Regions from separate parts of the Homo sapiens genome. Here region 1 is linked to region 2. Evidence: promoter capture Hi-C in human tissues and cell types (Jung and others, 2019). All regions are on one chromosome and are shown on one strand. Each heading gives the region's core, a stretch centred on a gene start or on the middle of the fragment in contact. The rest is flanking DNA. Distances are from core to core; before and after follow the strand shown. Region 1 has its middle 29 kb from the start of INAVA. Region 2 holds the start of KIF14 (kinesin family member 14).

Region 1 (7,684 bases), core at 3,110-5,609, 300 kb after region 2:
GCAAAGAAGCCTCCCAGGCTGACTTGGGGTTTCAAGTCCATTCGCAATCAAAACTTTCAAAGTCAGTCTAGGACAGCCCTAGAAATTTGTGGCCACTGGGAGTGACTTAAAGGTCTCCTCCCAATTGTTTTTCCATCCCGGGCCATTGGGCCATACCTGATGCAGAAAGTCTTTTTTTTCTTTTCTTTCTTTCTTTCTTTTTTTTTTGGAGATGGAGTCTCACTCTGTTGCCCAGGCTGGAGTGCAGTAGTGCGATCTTGGCTCACTGCAACCTCTGCTTCCTGGGTTCAAGCGATTCTCCTGTTCTCCTGCCTCAGCCTCCTGAGTAGCTAGGACTACAGGTGCATGCCACCACACTCGGCTAATTTTTTATTTTTAGTAGAGATGGGGTTTAACCATGTTGGCCAGGCTGGTCTCGAACTCCTGACCTTGGGTGATCCACCCACCTCGGCCTCCCAAAGTGCTGGGATTACAGGCATGAGCCACTGCACCCGGCTGAAAATCTCTTATCTAATCCCCACATGATGGCCTTTCCACTTTGGCTTCCATTGGCCTAGAGAAGCTGGTTCTGGGGACCCTGGTAGCTTCTGGGCCTTCTTGGTGGGCAGGAAGGGAGGGGGAGGATGACTCTGGCTTCCTGTTCCATCTGGTGGAATCAGCTAAACTCCCCCAACTACATCCCTTTTCAGGATTGCGCCAATCAGAAAGAGAAGCCTATGAGTTCATAGTGGACTTTCTAGAAGAAGAACATATGGTAAGAAAGTTCTCTGGACCTTTGTGTGAACTGAGGCGGAAAGTAGAAAAAAATAAGAGGGCTTATGCCTCCTTGGGTTTTGAGTACCAGCCCTGGCTTGGAAGCCACCAGATACTCAGCCCATTGTTGCCTCGTGACTGGGCAGATCTTTGGTGGCTAGGCCACTGGACAGGGTGTCTAGGGCTTAGATCTTGCAGTTCCCTTCCTGTAGGAAGGATCTTTGTCAGAGATCCTTAGCCCCACTGTCCTCCAGAGCCCTACACAGGTGGCCAGACATTGGTGAGCAGCAGTCCTGGGGACAGGGACATTGCACTGAGAAAATCAAGTGAGCAATCCATCCTTTGGCCTAGTTGATGGGAATCTGGGCTGGGTGTGAGGAGCAGGGGTGGGGTGTAGGTCTCAGGTGCTGCCTGTGGGCAGAGCCTAAGGGCTGAAGCCCAGCTTATGGGCAGCAATCTGTGTATTGTGTCCTAGTCTGAGTTCACCAAGCTGAAGTTCCTGAGAGCTGTGGAAACCTTGAGTAGTGCTGTGCATGGCCAAGCAGACGGCAATATGGACGATTACTATCCCAAAGCCATCCTGGCCAAGAAAATTGAGGTGAGAAAGACCCAAGCTCTTCTGGGAGTTGGTCATTCAGGGATGAGGATGACAAGTCCCGGACCTGAGGGCTGGCATCTCTCTCTGAGGGGGGTTCTTGTTTTTTTTGTTGTTGTTGTTTGTTTGTTTCCTGGCCTTTCTAGATACTAATTCTTGAAGAATCCACTGAGATTTTGATGGGCAACATGCGTCAGCAAGCCATGCTCTGCATCGTGGCGCTGAGGTGCCTTTCCTGCTCTTACCCCCTCAGAGCGCCTGGGTCTCTTGTGCTCAGAACATTTGGGTTGGGAGGAAGGGCAAGGTTTGGGGACTTAAATTTTGGCCTGTGGGTGGCATAGCCCCCGTGTCTGCCACTTTATCTGCCTGCATCCTTGGGTGGAGGGGGTGTTCTCCAATTGTACTTTTGGAAGCCTATTAAGACGTCCAGTGAGGGAAGCTTCCCTAGCAACCCAGGCCCTCCTTCCCTGGAGGAGAGGCTATTAGAAAGTGTTTGGGGGCTCAGATCCCCACTGTTTCCTGCATCTCAGAAACAGCAGCAGAGCACATTCTCCCAGAGGGTCCCAGTCTCTCCCAGGGACCCCAAAGCCGCTTGTCATTCCCTGCCTCTCCCTGCAGTCAGGTGAATCCACCATTCCACTTGTCCCAGAAACTGGATCTGGTAAATGTGGGCGTCTCCAGCCTGTTCTCTCTGCCGCCTATCGTGCCCAGCCTGTACCGAAGAGACAATGCGAGTCTCTACCTCCAGGTAATCCCCACCTCTTCATGGAGAGCTCCACGGGGAGGTTTTGTCTTTGGAGTCACCTCTTGCCCTTTAACTCTCCCTCCTTTCTCCTGCTCTGACCTCTCTGCAGAGCTCTTGGCCCCATGTTCCTGGGGCTGCTAAGAAGCACTCCAGCTGTCGTACCCTCACCTGTCTTTCCAGGGATTGGCCCATGCTCCCACCCTATCCATGTCCTTGTTCACTAAGGCTCACAGCAGCCTCAGTCACGGGAGGAGACAGTCTGATAATAAAACCCACAGATACTGTGGAGCAACTGACCAGTAGACTGCCAAATCTTCCCAGGGGCCTCTAATTTTTTATTTCATTTTTAATTTTTAAATTTTGAGACGGGGTCTCACTCTGTTGCCCAGGCTGGAGTATAGTGGTGCAATCATAGCTCACTGCAGCCTCAACCTCCGGGGCTCAAGCTATCTTCCCACCTCAGCCTTTGTAGTTTTAAAAATAGATGTGTCCTGGACCTAGCGGAATGAATCTAATGCGGAGAGTCCCACGGGATCTGGCTTTCTTGGGGAGAATGGCCCAATGCCTACATTTCACCAATGGGCTCACAATTTGGGCTGGACCTGGTCCAGTCTTCATTGAGACCAAGAAAAGTCAGCACCAAGGAAGATCAGAGTGTGGCTGGCCATGAGAGAGAGACTGCCGGGGGTGGCAGAGCCAGGCTGGCCCCACTTCCTTCCTCCAGAGGTAGGGGACAAGGAGATGGAGTGCCCCCAGGGAGCCGAGCTGGCACTGTGGCAGTCTGTTCTGGACACTCCCTGTCTCTTCACTTGTCAGAGGGTCCAGGCCTTAGACAACATGTTGCAGGCTCTTGTGATGGACAGGATGAACCCTAACATGCTCATACTACAAAACTTCCTGGAGGTAAGTGGCTGTGGAAATCAAGGAAACTGAAAGTCCATATTAATTCTAGTATGTTTGGGAGGAAAGGAAAAGAATATCAGGATAGCCTAGGTGTCATTCTAGTCCAAAGACCATCGGTTCTCAAGCCTCAGCATGCATAAACATCACTTGAAGACAAATTTCTGTATCTCCCACGAAATACCATTTTGAGGATCACAGTTTTGGAAACATAGCCCACTAAGCTGAGGACCCATTTCTGCCCAGGACTTGGACATATTGGGGCTTCGATGGTAATAACATTTATATCTGTGCCAGACTTTAATCTTCAAAGTATTTTCCCCTTTTGCAGCATCTGCCATTGCTCTGTGATAAAGAAGACCTCAGTGCTTAACCACAGGCTACTCTTATATCCCTTAATGTAATCCCCACCAGAGACTCATTGTACTTCTTTAACTGTCTTTAGAGCTTCAGAGCGTTTCAAATATTCTTAGTTATGACAAATTGTTATCTCCTGAGGGTAGTTGAGTTGGGGAAACAGCCAAGAATCACTTGAAACCGACTTTCATGAACACGATGGTAATCAATTACGGTAATAAAATTTTGCATAAAGCATTAGGTGTGACTACAAAGAAGGAGACAAGATTGCCCAGGCATCTTATAAAAAGACCTTGACAAGGCCAGGTGCAGTGGCTCACGCCTGTAATCCCAGCACTTTGGGAGGCCGAGGCGGGTGGATCACTTGAGGTCAGGTGTTTGTGACCAGCCTGGCCAACATGGTGAAACCCCGTCTCTACTAAAAATACAAAAAAATTAGCTGGGCGTGGTGGTGGGCACCTGTAATCCCAGCTACTCGGGAGGCTGAGGCAGGAGAATCTCTTGAACCCAGGAAGAGGAGGTTGCAGTGAGCTGAGATCAGGCCATTGCACTCCAGCCTGGGCAACAAGAGTGAAACTCCGTCTCAAAAAAAACCCCCCAAAAACCCAAAAAGACCTTGACAAGGGCTTTAGCTAGAGGGAAATTTGTCCACATTTGGATGAGTGACATAGTTCTTTTGGAATGTATCATCTCTGGTATGTTTGTTGAGAAGGATTTTTGTGCTTTTTAGGCAACCTTGCTATAAATGTAAGAACAAATGTTCTGTTGTTCTTGGAGTCTGTGGGGGAACAGAGATGCAAAACTTTGGTCCTGGTCAGGGTACAGTCTTCAAGAGATCCATTACTGGGGTTCTCATTATCCAAAGATAAATGATGCCCTGCAAAATTACCACCTGAAACAGGTTCCAACATTTTGTATAAAATAGTGGAGGAATCAATTTATCTTGATAAATAAAATTAAAAGTATAAAAATAAGTTATTTTTATGCGAACAAAATGTATTTTTGCTACTTTGAGGTAATTCTCAGTCAAGTGTGTATATATTTTAGACATATTTTTCCTACAAAATGACATGATAGCATAATACAACATCATTTATTTCACATTTGACTTTGCAGAGCTGGATCAGAAAGGTCGAATTTGAGGGCTATATGGTTTTCTTAAGGGCCCTCCTTTTTCTTTTGTCTTCTTTTTTTCCGTTTTAAAATTAAGGTATAATTTACATATAGTATAATTCAGCTTTTAGTGTGTAGATCTGTGGGTTTTGACAAATGCATGCAGTCCTGTAACTACAGCCACAATTAAGCTATAGAACAGTTCTATCACCCCCCCAATTCCCCCATGACTCTATGGTCAACCCCTTCCCCATTCCCCATCCCTGGCAATGGCTGATTTGTTTCCTGTCCCTATAGTTTTGCCTTTTCTAAAATGTCATCTAGGTGCAGTGGTTCATGCCTATAGTCCCAGCACTTCAGGAGGGCGAGGTAGGGGGATCACCTAAGCCAAGGAGTTTGAGACCAGCCTGGGCAACATATGAGACCCCATCTCTACTAAAAATAAAAGAAATATATTAGCTGGGCATGTGGTGTGTGCCTGTTGTCTCAGCTACTTGGGAGGCTGTGGTGAGGGGATCGCCTGAAGCCTAGAGGTTGAGGCTGCAGTGAGCTGTGATCATGCTACCGCACTCCAGACTGGGCAACAAAGCTAGACCCTGTCTCGAAAATAATTAATTCATTAATTAAGATAATTAAAAATGTTATCTAAGGCTGAGTACTCCAGCCTGGGGAACAAAGTGAGACCCTATCTCAAAACTAAATAAATAAAATAATTAAAATGTTATCTAAGGCTGAGTACAGTGGCTCATGCCTGTAATTCCAGCACTTTGGGAGGATCACTTGAGCCCAGGAGATCAAGACCAGCCTGGGCAACAGTGAGACCCCCATCTCTACAAATAATAAAAAAATTATCCAGGCGTGGTGGTATGTACCTGTGGTCCCAGCTACTTGGGAGGCTGAGGTGGGAAGATCACCTGAGCCCAGGAGGTCGAGGCTGCAGTAAGCTGTGACAGTGCCACTGCACTCCAGCCTGGGCAATATACAGGGAGACCTTGTCTCAAAAAAAAAAAAAAAAAAAAAAAAAAAGACATCTAAGTAGAATTATCCAGTAGGCAGTCTCTGGAGTCTGTCTTCTTTCATTTAGCATAATGCATTTGAGATTTATTCATGTTGTTATGTGTATCAGTATTTTGTTTCTTTTTATTTTTTAATTGAGTAGATGGATCACAGTTTGTGCATTAATTTTCCAGTTGAGGAACTTTGGGGTTGTTTCCAGACTGGGATGATTACAAATGAATCTTCTATAAATCTTTGTGTGCAGGCTTTTGTATGAACATAGGTTTGTATTTCACTTGAGTAAATTTCTTGGAGTGGGACTGCTGTGTTTTATGGCATGTGGATGTTTCACTTTATAAGATACTTCCCAGCCCAGCGTGGTGGCTCACGCCTGTAATCCCAGCCCTTGGGGAGGCCGAGGAGGGTGGATCACCTGAGGTTGGGAGTTTGAGACCAGCCTGACCAACATGAAGAAACCCCATCTCTACTGAAAATACAAAATTAGCCGGGCGTGGTGGCACATGCCTGTAATCCCAGCTATTTGGGAGGCTGAGGCAGGAGAATCGCTGGAACCTAGGAGGCGGAGATTGCTGTGAGCCGAGATTGCGCCATTGCACCTTAGCCTGGGCAACAAGAGCAAAACTCCCTCTCAAAAAAAAAAAAGGAGGGGGGATACTTCCAAAGTGTTTTCCCAAGTGGCCATTTTCCACTTCCACTAGCAATGTGTAAGAGTCCCAGTTGCTCTGCATCCCTGCCAGCATGTGGTATTGCTAGTGTTTCCTTTTAGTCATTCTTATAGATGTGTAGTGGTATCTCTTTGTGGTTTTAACTTGCGTTTCCTAGTGACTAATGTTGGGCACGTTTTCATAGTCTTATTTGCCATCTACATATCTGCTTTGATGAAGCGTCTATTTAAATCTTTTGCCCATTTTTTTATTGGGTTGTTTTCTTATTTGGGGGTTTGAGGGTTATTTTATTTTATTTTATTTTATTTTATTTTATTTTATTTTATTTTATTTTATTTTATTTGAGATAGAATCTCACTCTGTTGCCCAGGCTGGAGAGCAGTGACACCATCACTACTCACTGCAGCCTCGAACCTCCCCGAGAGACCTTCCCACCTCAGGCTCCTGAGTAGCTAGGACCATAGGTGTGCGCCACCATGCTCCACTAATTTTTGAATGTTATGGGCCAGGCACAGTGGCTCATGCCTGCAGTCCCAGCACTTTGAGAGGCTGAGGCGGGTGGATCACTTGAGGTCAGGAGTTCAAGATCAGCCTGGCCAATGTGGCAGAACCCCATCTCTACTAAAAATACAAAACTTAGCCAGGTGTGGTGGCATATGCCTGTAATCCCAGCTACTGAGGTGGCTGAGGCAGGATAATCTCTTGAACCTGGGGGGAGAAGGTTGCGGTGAGCCAAGATCATGCCACTGCACTCCAGCCTGGGCGACAGAGCGAGAATCCGTCTCAAAAAAAAAAAAAAGAAAAAGTTTATGTAGAGCTATGGTCTCCCTATGTTGCCCATACTGGTCTCGAGCTCCAGGGTGCAAGCAATCCTCCTGCCTTGGCCTCCCAAAGTGCTGGTATTACAAGTGTGTGAGCCACCACGCCCAGCCTTGAGAGCTCTTTGTATATTCTGGATATAAATATTTTGTCAGATATGTGATTTGCAGACATTTTCTCCCATTTTGTGGCCTGATTTTATACAGTGTCTTTTTTTTTTTTTTTTTTTTTTTTGAGACGGAGTCTCACTCTGTCGCCCAGGCTGGAGTGCAGTGGCATGATCTCAGCTCACTAAACCTCTGCCTCCCCGGTTCAAGCAATTCTCCTGCCTCAGCTTCCTGAATAACAGGGATTACAGGCATGTGCCACCACACCCAGCTAATTTTCGTATTTTTAGCAGAGACAGGATTTCACCATATTGGCTGGGCATTCATTGAATGCCCACATCGTGTTGAACTCCTAACCTCAGGTGACGCACCCACCTCAGCCGCCGAAAGTGTTGGGATTACAGGCGTGAGCCACTGCACCCAGCCCTGGCCACTCTTAACAGTATCTTTTGAAGAGCAGGTAGTTATTCATTTTGATGAAGTCCAAGTCATTATTTTTTTTTATGGTTATAGGAATTTTTGCCTCCCTTAAGTATTTTCTCATTTTCTTCTAGAATCTTATCATTCTAGATTTTAAGTCTGTGGTCAATTCTGAATTAACTTGTGTATTGGA
Region 2 (7,012 bases), core at 3,120-5,619:
GTATAGTCATCCATCTTGCATTTTGTCCCTACCAGCTCTTTCTATTGTTTCTCTTCCTATCATGGTTCTTGAGGCTCTATTAGACATTCCAATTCTCTCAAACCAACTCACCCTCAGTTCTCCCTCTTAATACTAACCCATTTGCACGAAAAAGATTCTACAGTACTGTATAACTTGCCTTTAACTACTGACCCCTTAGGTTCAAACTGGAGGTTCCTGCCCTGATGCAGTGGTCACCAAATCCTCTTCTAACTTGCTTAGATACACAGCTTCAAGTTAAACACTACTAACTCTGTGAAGTTTTTCACTGTCCCTTAAAATATTTTAAACAACTACATTAAAATATTTTAAAACAATTACATTTTGTCACATTCACATTTTGTCATGTCCATCTTTTCCAACCTTATCTTTAATCTGTGTCTTCCCCACCCACAACCACTTTTAGAGAGAGATTTTTTGCCATCAAAATCAAATCTAATGTATCACTGCATTTATAACTACTATATAGTAATCGGAGACAATGATGATGATAATCACCACTCTGGAAAGGGTTTTGAAAGGACCTCTTTAGGGAACCAGTAATTTGTTATGGCTCTTCTTTTTTTTGAGACAGTCTCGTTCTGTCGCCCAGGCTGGAGTGCAGTGGCCTGATGTCAGCTCAATGCAGCCTCTGCCTCCCGGGTTCAAGTGATTCTCCTGCCTCAGCCTCCCGAGTAGCTGGGATTACAGGTGTGCAACACCATGCCCAGCTAATTTTTGTATTTTTAGTAGAGACAGGGTATCACCATATTGGCCAGGCTGGTCTCAAACCCCTGGCCTCAAGTGATCTGCCTGCCTTGACCTCCCAAAGCAATGGGATTACAGGCGTGACCCACCACACCTGGCCTGTTATGGCTCTTTTTAAGGGATAGGTATAACATTCCAGCATATATTGCAGATCTGAAAGCAGATTTCATTAGAGACCTAAGTGACTTATTCAGACTTTTTAAAAGCAATATATCTAGAGAAACTTCAATATACAAAATATGGTGATTCAATTTTTTAATTTTATAGTCAGTGATCAAAAATTATCAACACACACTACAACTAGACCTAAAAGTTCTTTCTATATAAAAGTATTGCCAACAAGTTTGAAGATGCACGAATACACTGACCTTCCAAAGGCAGAGAGGAATTAAAGGTACCTTACATGTAACTGCTTGGCTTTAGATTTTAAAAGGCATCACATACCTCTTGGTGAAAGGTCTTACGCGTACTGCCACTGTCACTTGACTATTCTCTACTTTTAAGGGGTCTTTTCCTGCAGAGGTGTTCTGAACTACAGTTTCTTCTTCGGGAAGAATTGTATTTTCTGCGGATCTTTCCTGTTTATTTGCAAGAAAGGAACTTTTTGGTCTTTGTTTAACTTGAAGGTTAGACATTCTATTCTTCAGTATTGATGGAGCTGGGCTCTTAAGCTGAGGCAGGCTGCACTTTGTTGTCAGTTTGTGTTCTGTTGTACATTTTGTAGGTGTTCTTTTTTCTAAGCTCCCAAATTTATTTGAAGTTTTTGCAATTTCCTTCCCAATACTTCTATGATACAAGTTTCCTGTTCCCAACACTTTGATATCCAACTTGCTCTGAGTAGGTTTCGTTGTCAAGTGTCCTGATCTAACAACTTCAGTCTGACTCAGGGAAGCAATGGGTGGTCTATTACTTGAGTACTTAAGTGCAACATTTTCATTTGCTCTACTGGGGGCAGAAAATGTTTCTTTGTATTTCTTATCAGCCATCATTTCAATGACCTGTGGATCTTCATCTAAAGGTACAGAAGAGGCAACAAAAGAGTTTTTAGCATTATTTACAATCCTTACATTTGTTCTACTTTCCTTAGAAACACCATTATTTTCTGTTTCACCTCCCACATTCAGTGTCATTTTGACAGAATCTATTTCAGCTGTTTTCCACTTTTCTGCAGAATCTGTTTTAGCACGACGTTGTAATGTAAGACGTGTTTCTGCTGTTTTTTCAGTTGTGTCTTCCAACTCACTAACAAGCAAAGATGATTCTTTGTTCCTTGTAGTTCTCCTCTGAAGTGCCAATCTACCTACAGGATTAGGGGTAAGGGGCATGTCTGCTGTTTTTCTACTGGCAGAAATAACATAAGTTCTATTTATGTCTCTGACTTTACCTGCAGATCTCAATAATGGATCATCATTTTCACATTCTGACATATCCGACTTCAAATGCAGCTTAAGTCGGCTACTGTGGGTGAGGGCATTCAGTGATGAACTATTTTGGGAAGAAGGAATATCAAGAATATCACCGCTGTTATTTCTATTATGAGTACTGTGTAATGACATTTTGGCAGACAGTTATTTTAAAAAAGAATGTTACTAAGACCCTAAGCTCTTCTTTGGACATTCATTTGATTTCCAGCCATTTCTTATGTATCCATTTCTGAAAGTATCTGCTAAACTAAAAGAAAAAAAAAAGATTTAGATCACACAGACTACAAACAAGCTTTAAAAATATAGAGAGAACATCCCATTGTGTAAGTAAATTCCCAGAGGCATACATTACAATAGATCACAATCTGCAGCTCAGATACTGCTTCCAAGCAACTTCAGGCAAGTCTCTCAGAGAACTTACCATCATTATTCAACAAATATTGACTAAGTTTCCATTAGTGCCAGGCCCTCTGATAGATACTGTAGACTTCAAAGACAAGAATACAATTCCCATTTCTTTAGTCTAGAAGAAATATACTGATAAGCCATATATCAGGCCAAATGTGTCAAGTGACTTAGAAGATGTAAAAAGTGCATGCCAACATAGATTTTCAAGTACTTCCAGTGTGGGGAATGGGAAGGACTAAAGGAAACCCTAGCACCTAAATCAGAGTGTGGAGCAAAGTATTTTTATAAATACCTGCTACACGTATTTTTTTTTTTTGCCAATGTTCCATAAGAAGGTTTATTTTATTTTATTTTTATAAAAATATTTTTTTTGAGATGGAGTCTTGCTCTGTCACCAGGCTGGAGTGCAGTGGCACGACCTTGGCTTGCTGCAACCTCCTCCTCCTGTATTCAAGCAAATCTCCTGCCTTAGCCTCCCAAGTAGCTGGGACTACAGGCGCCCACCACCATGCCCAGCTAATTTTTGTATTTTTAGTAGAGACGGGGTTTCACCATGTTGGCCAGGATGGTCTCGATATCTTGACCTTGTGATCCGCCCGCCTCGGCCTCCCAAAGTGCTGGGATTACAGGCGTGAGCCACCGCGTCCGGCCCATGTATGTTGAATACAGGAATGCCTATAGAGAAGATTGAATTGATTGGTGTCACGAGGCAGATTATTCCCAAGTACCACAGGCAGTAAGTACGATAAGTACTGTAAATTAATTGTGTTGAGAAAAACCATGCAAGATTAGATAAACAGACAACCTGCCCTTTAGCAGTAAGACAACAAATTAGACAGAGGTGTATGTAAATATACAGCAACAATATCTATCAGGTATTAACGTTTTAAAGAAAGGGAACAGCAGTGACAGCTAAGAGACCTGGCTTTTAGTCAGCTTTGTATCCAACTCCTTACAAGGATGTAAACAAGACTTTAAATTTGCATGCCGGGTTCTAACCTGTAAAATGACACTGGTTCAAACTATTGCAAAGATTATTGCTAGCGAGGAACAAATTAATGGAAGTTCATTTTTAAATGAGGCTTTTAAATTTTTACATAAATAACAGTCATTACAAAAAAAATTCGTCAGCTTATAAGCATCTCCCATCAACGTTTCAACTCAAAATACAGAATTTTCCTGTTATGAAATGAATTTAAAGGCAAAAAGAAGATTCTGGAAATTCTCTTGCAACTAAAAACCATTTGCGATTTGCACAAATCAATACGGTTTCTGTTTGAGGAGTTTCGCCATCAGATTTTAAAGAGGACTGGAAGGAATACAAGGAAAATAAGCACAATCCAAACCAAAACATCCGGTGATTCTGTTCTTTCTCTGCTAGTCATTACCAGGGGCTATGACTAAGAATTACCTCTTAATGCCAACCGACTCGGGGAGACTCGGGGAGAAGCCCACGGGCCGAGAGGCCCTGAAGTCCGGCTTCCCGGTCCCAGCAGAGACGCTGCCTTGCGCCCTTCGTTCGGGGACCCCTTCGCCGCCGACCTGGAATGCTGAGGAACTGAATGGGGGACTGGAGCTAAGACCACCCGCCCGCAGAGCAGTGGTCGCCTGTAGGGAAAGCGTCCGCACGCCCTCCCCAGTGCCGAAACTTCGCCCCTCCGCAGGGTCCGGCACCTTGGGGACCCCCTCGACACAGTCCCCACGCCACTCACCACCTCCAGCGCCGGCTCCCCAGAAGGCCGCAATTTGAATGGGCGCCCCGCCTTCTGATTGGCTGCTGGGCGTCGCGTCGGGTGCCGCGCCTTTGCTTCCACCCGCCCCCCGGAAGTGCCGGTGGTTGGGCTCCGGTAGCCGTCTCTGAATGCTGGACTCGCCCCACCCTCATCTCCCAGGCAACGCTCCCTCCCCTCCTCGGGTTCTGCTAAAGCGTGGAGCTTGGCCCCCTTTAAATCCGACCAGAGGAAGGGGCGGCGGTCGCGGGCGCAGCGGGCCCCTCGTTGAAGTGGGTGTCAAACGAAAAGCATGACAGTGACACTCTTGTCGGTCTTTAATCTAAAAGAAGCCATTACATCGAAGACTTCACATTGTAAATGGATATTTGCCCCCAAGTTAATCATAATAATTAACTTTTCTAGTGTTTCCTATGCAAGGCGTTCACGTAGGAAATATGCTAAATGTCTTATATGAATTTTTAAACAGTCCTGAAAATCTTGTGAGATAAATATTAATGTTATCCCTCGTTTACAGATGAGGAACTGAGGTTTAGAGTTAAACTTGTGAAAGATCAGACAATTAGCAGTGGCATAACTAGAACTTGAAGGTTCTTGCCGCCGTACAATGTAACTCCGTTTCAGTAAAAGTTCCCTTTTTTTAATTTTTTTTTTCTTTTTTGAGACGGAGTCTCGCTCTGCAGCCCAGGCTGGAGTGCAGTGGCCCCTGCAACCTCCGCCTCCCTGGTTCAAGCGATTCTCCTGCCTCAGCCTCTGGAGTAGCTGGGATTACAGGCGCGCACCACCACGCCCAGCTAATTTTTGTATTTTTAGTAGAGACGGGGTTTCACCATATTGGCCAGGCTGGTCTCGAATTCCTGACCTTGTAAGCTGCCAGGCGTGAGCCACTGCGCCGCCCAGCCCCCATAAGATTTTGAAATCTGAAAAAATATTACAAATACATTCTGAAAAATAACCAAATAAATGAGAAAGACTAGATAAATAGATATTGTAAAGCAACAATGTTTTTTAAACAGGCAAAAAGTACAGAGATATTGAAGAAGTATTCACTGAGATAGAGACCATAAGTAGCTCCAATTATATAGACCAACCAAACAGATGATAAAGTACTCATTCTAAATCTTACTCTAAAAATCATTCTAAAACTCAATTAAAATTAAGGTATAAGGAAACTATCAGAAAATAGAATATAATATTTATCAGGGCCAGGTGCGGTGGCTCACGCCTGTAATCTTAGCACTTTGGGAGACCAAGGCAGGCGGATCACTTGCAGTCAGGAGTTTAAAACCAGCCTGGCTAACATGGTGAAACCCCGTCTCTCCTAAAAATACAAAAATTAGGCAGCCGTGGTGGCGGGCCCCTGTAATCCCCGTTACTCAGGAGGCTGAGGCAGGAGAATCACGTGAACCGGGTAGGCGGAGGTTGCAGTGAGCCGAGATCGCGCCATTGCACTCCAGCCTGGGGGACAAGAGAGAAACTCCGTCTCAAGAAAAAAAAAAAAAAAAGTTATCACATCTATGGGAAAATGATCATTCAATTTAGAAACAAAGCAAGATATGTCAAAGAAAAGACAGACAAACTCAAATACATAAAAATTTTAAACATATGTATAATTCAAAATAATAAAAATAAAATGTAACTGGAAATATATATTAAACATGACAGAAGACATAAAGACCTTTTTCAATTTTAAAAGGAAAATAAGCTCATAAATAGAATAAAGCAAGTATTTTTTTAAATCCACCAGAGGGAGACAAACAGAAAGAAAACGTGGAAAGAGTCGAAGTAAAACTGGCACGTTTGAAGCTTTCTGGATTATGTAAGATTTAAAGAAAAATGATTAACTCATGCTAATTAATGATCTCTTAAGATTAAATTTTTTTTTTTTGAGACGGAGTTTCGCTCTAGTTGCCCAGGCTGGAGTGCAATGGCTTGATCTTGGCTCACCGCAACGTCCGTCTCCCAGGTTCAAGCGATTCTCCTGCCTCAGCCTCCCGAGTAGATGGGATTACAGGCGTGCACCACAACCCCAGCTAATTTTGTATTTTTAGTAGAGAAGGGGTTTCTCCATGTTGGTCAAGCTGGTCTCGAACTCTCGACCTTAGGTGATCCACCTACCTCAGCCCCCCAAAGTGCTGGGATTACAGGCGTGAGCCACTGCGCCCGGCCTAAGATTAAATCTATTACAATTTAGCAAATTTCACAATTTTTAAATTATTAAAATGTGGTATGTATTTTCCTGGTGTTTGTATCTAGTTGCACTTGGGGTCTATAACGAAAAGGTGCAATAGGAAATTAATAATTTTAAAATGCAAAGGACAAAGCAAAAGTTGTGGAAAAGTGGTAAGAGCACTTTGGATTCTAGCTGAGGATCTGTCTCAACCTAATGGTGAGACCAGAGATAAGTCTCCTTACTGTAGATCCCTCGCTTGTGAAACGAAAGTGCTGGATTAAATCATCATAACCAGCAAGGATTGAGTCCTTTCTTTGTGCAAGATAAATAACCTAACTCCATAACCTTATAAGATAGGTATTATGATTATCGCTGTTTTACACATGAGGGAAAGTGGGTTTCCAAGGAGTTAAATAGCTTGCCTGACATTATACAACTACTGGGTCACAGAGTTAGGTTCAGAACTCAGGAAATTAAACACCATTTCCTGT

Evidence for each region. Contacts are between HindIII fragments. The study calls those that stand out against the background at their distance.
Region 1: a contact is called between a fragment that was not itself captured here and the fragment with the promoter of KIF14 in region 2, in 1 of the 25 tissues and cell types used here (lymphoblastoid cells).

Annotation. Positions count from the first base shown.
Region 1 is chr1:200,919,766-200,927,449 of GRCh38, forward strand. No RefSeq gene overlaps it. Among named protein-coding and RNA genes, the nearest start is that of INAVA, 29 kb to the left of the region's middle. The HindIII fragment of the contact is 7,391 bases long and covers 665-7,684 here.
Region 2 is chr1:200,616,382-200,623,393 of GRCh38, forward strand. KIF14 (kinesin family member 14) reads right to left here and starts at 4,370. Exons shown (of 30, transcript NM_014875.3): 1 at 4,030-4,370; 2 at 1,231-2,457. The coding sequence starts at 2,342. RefSeq lists an enhancer at 3,638-4,139 and a silencer at 4,308-4,457. The HindIII fragment of the contact is 6,770 bases long and covers 208-6,977 here.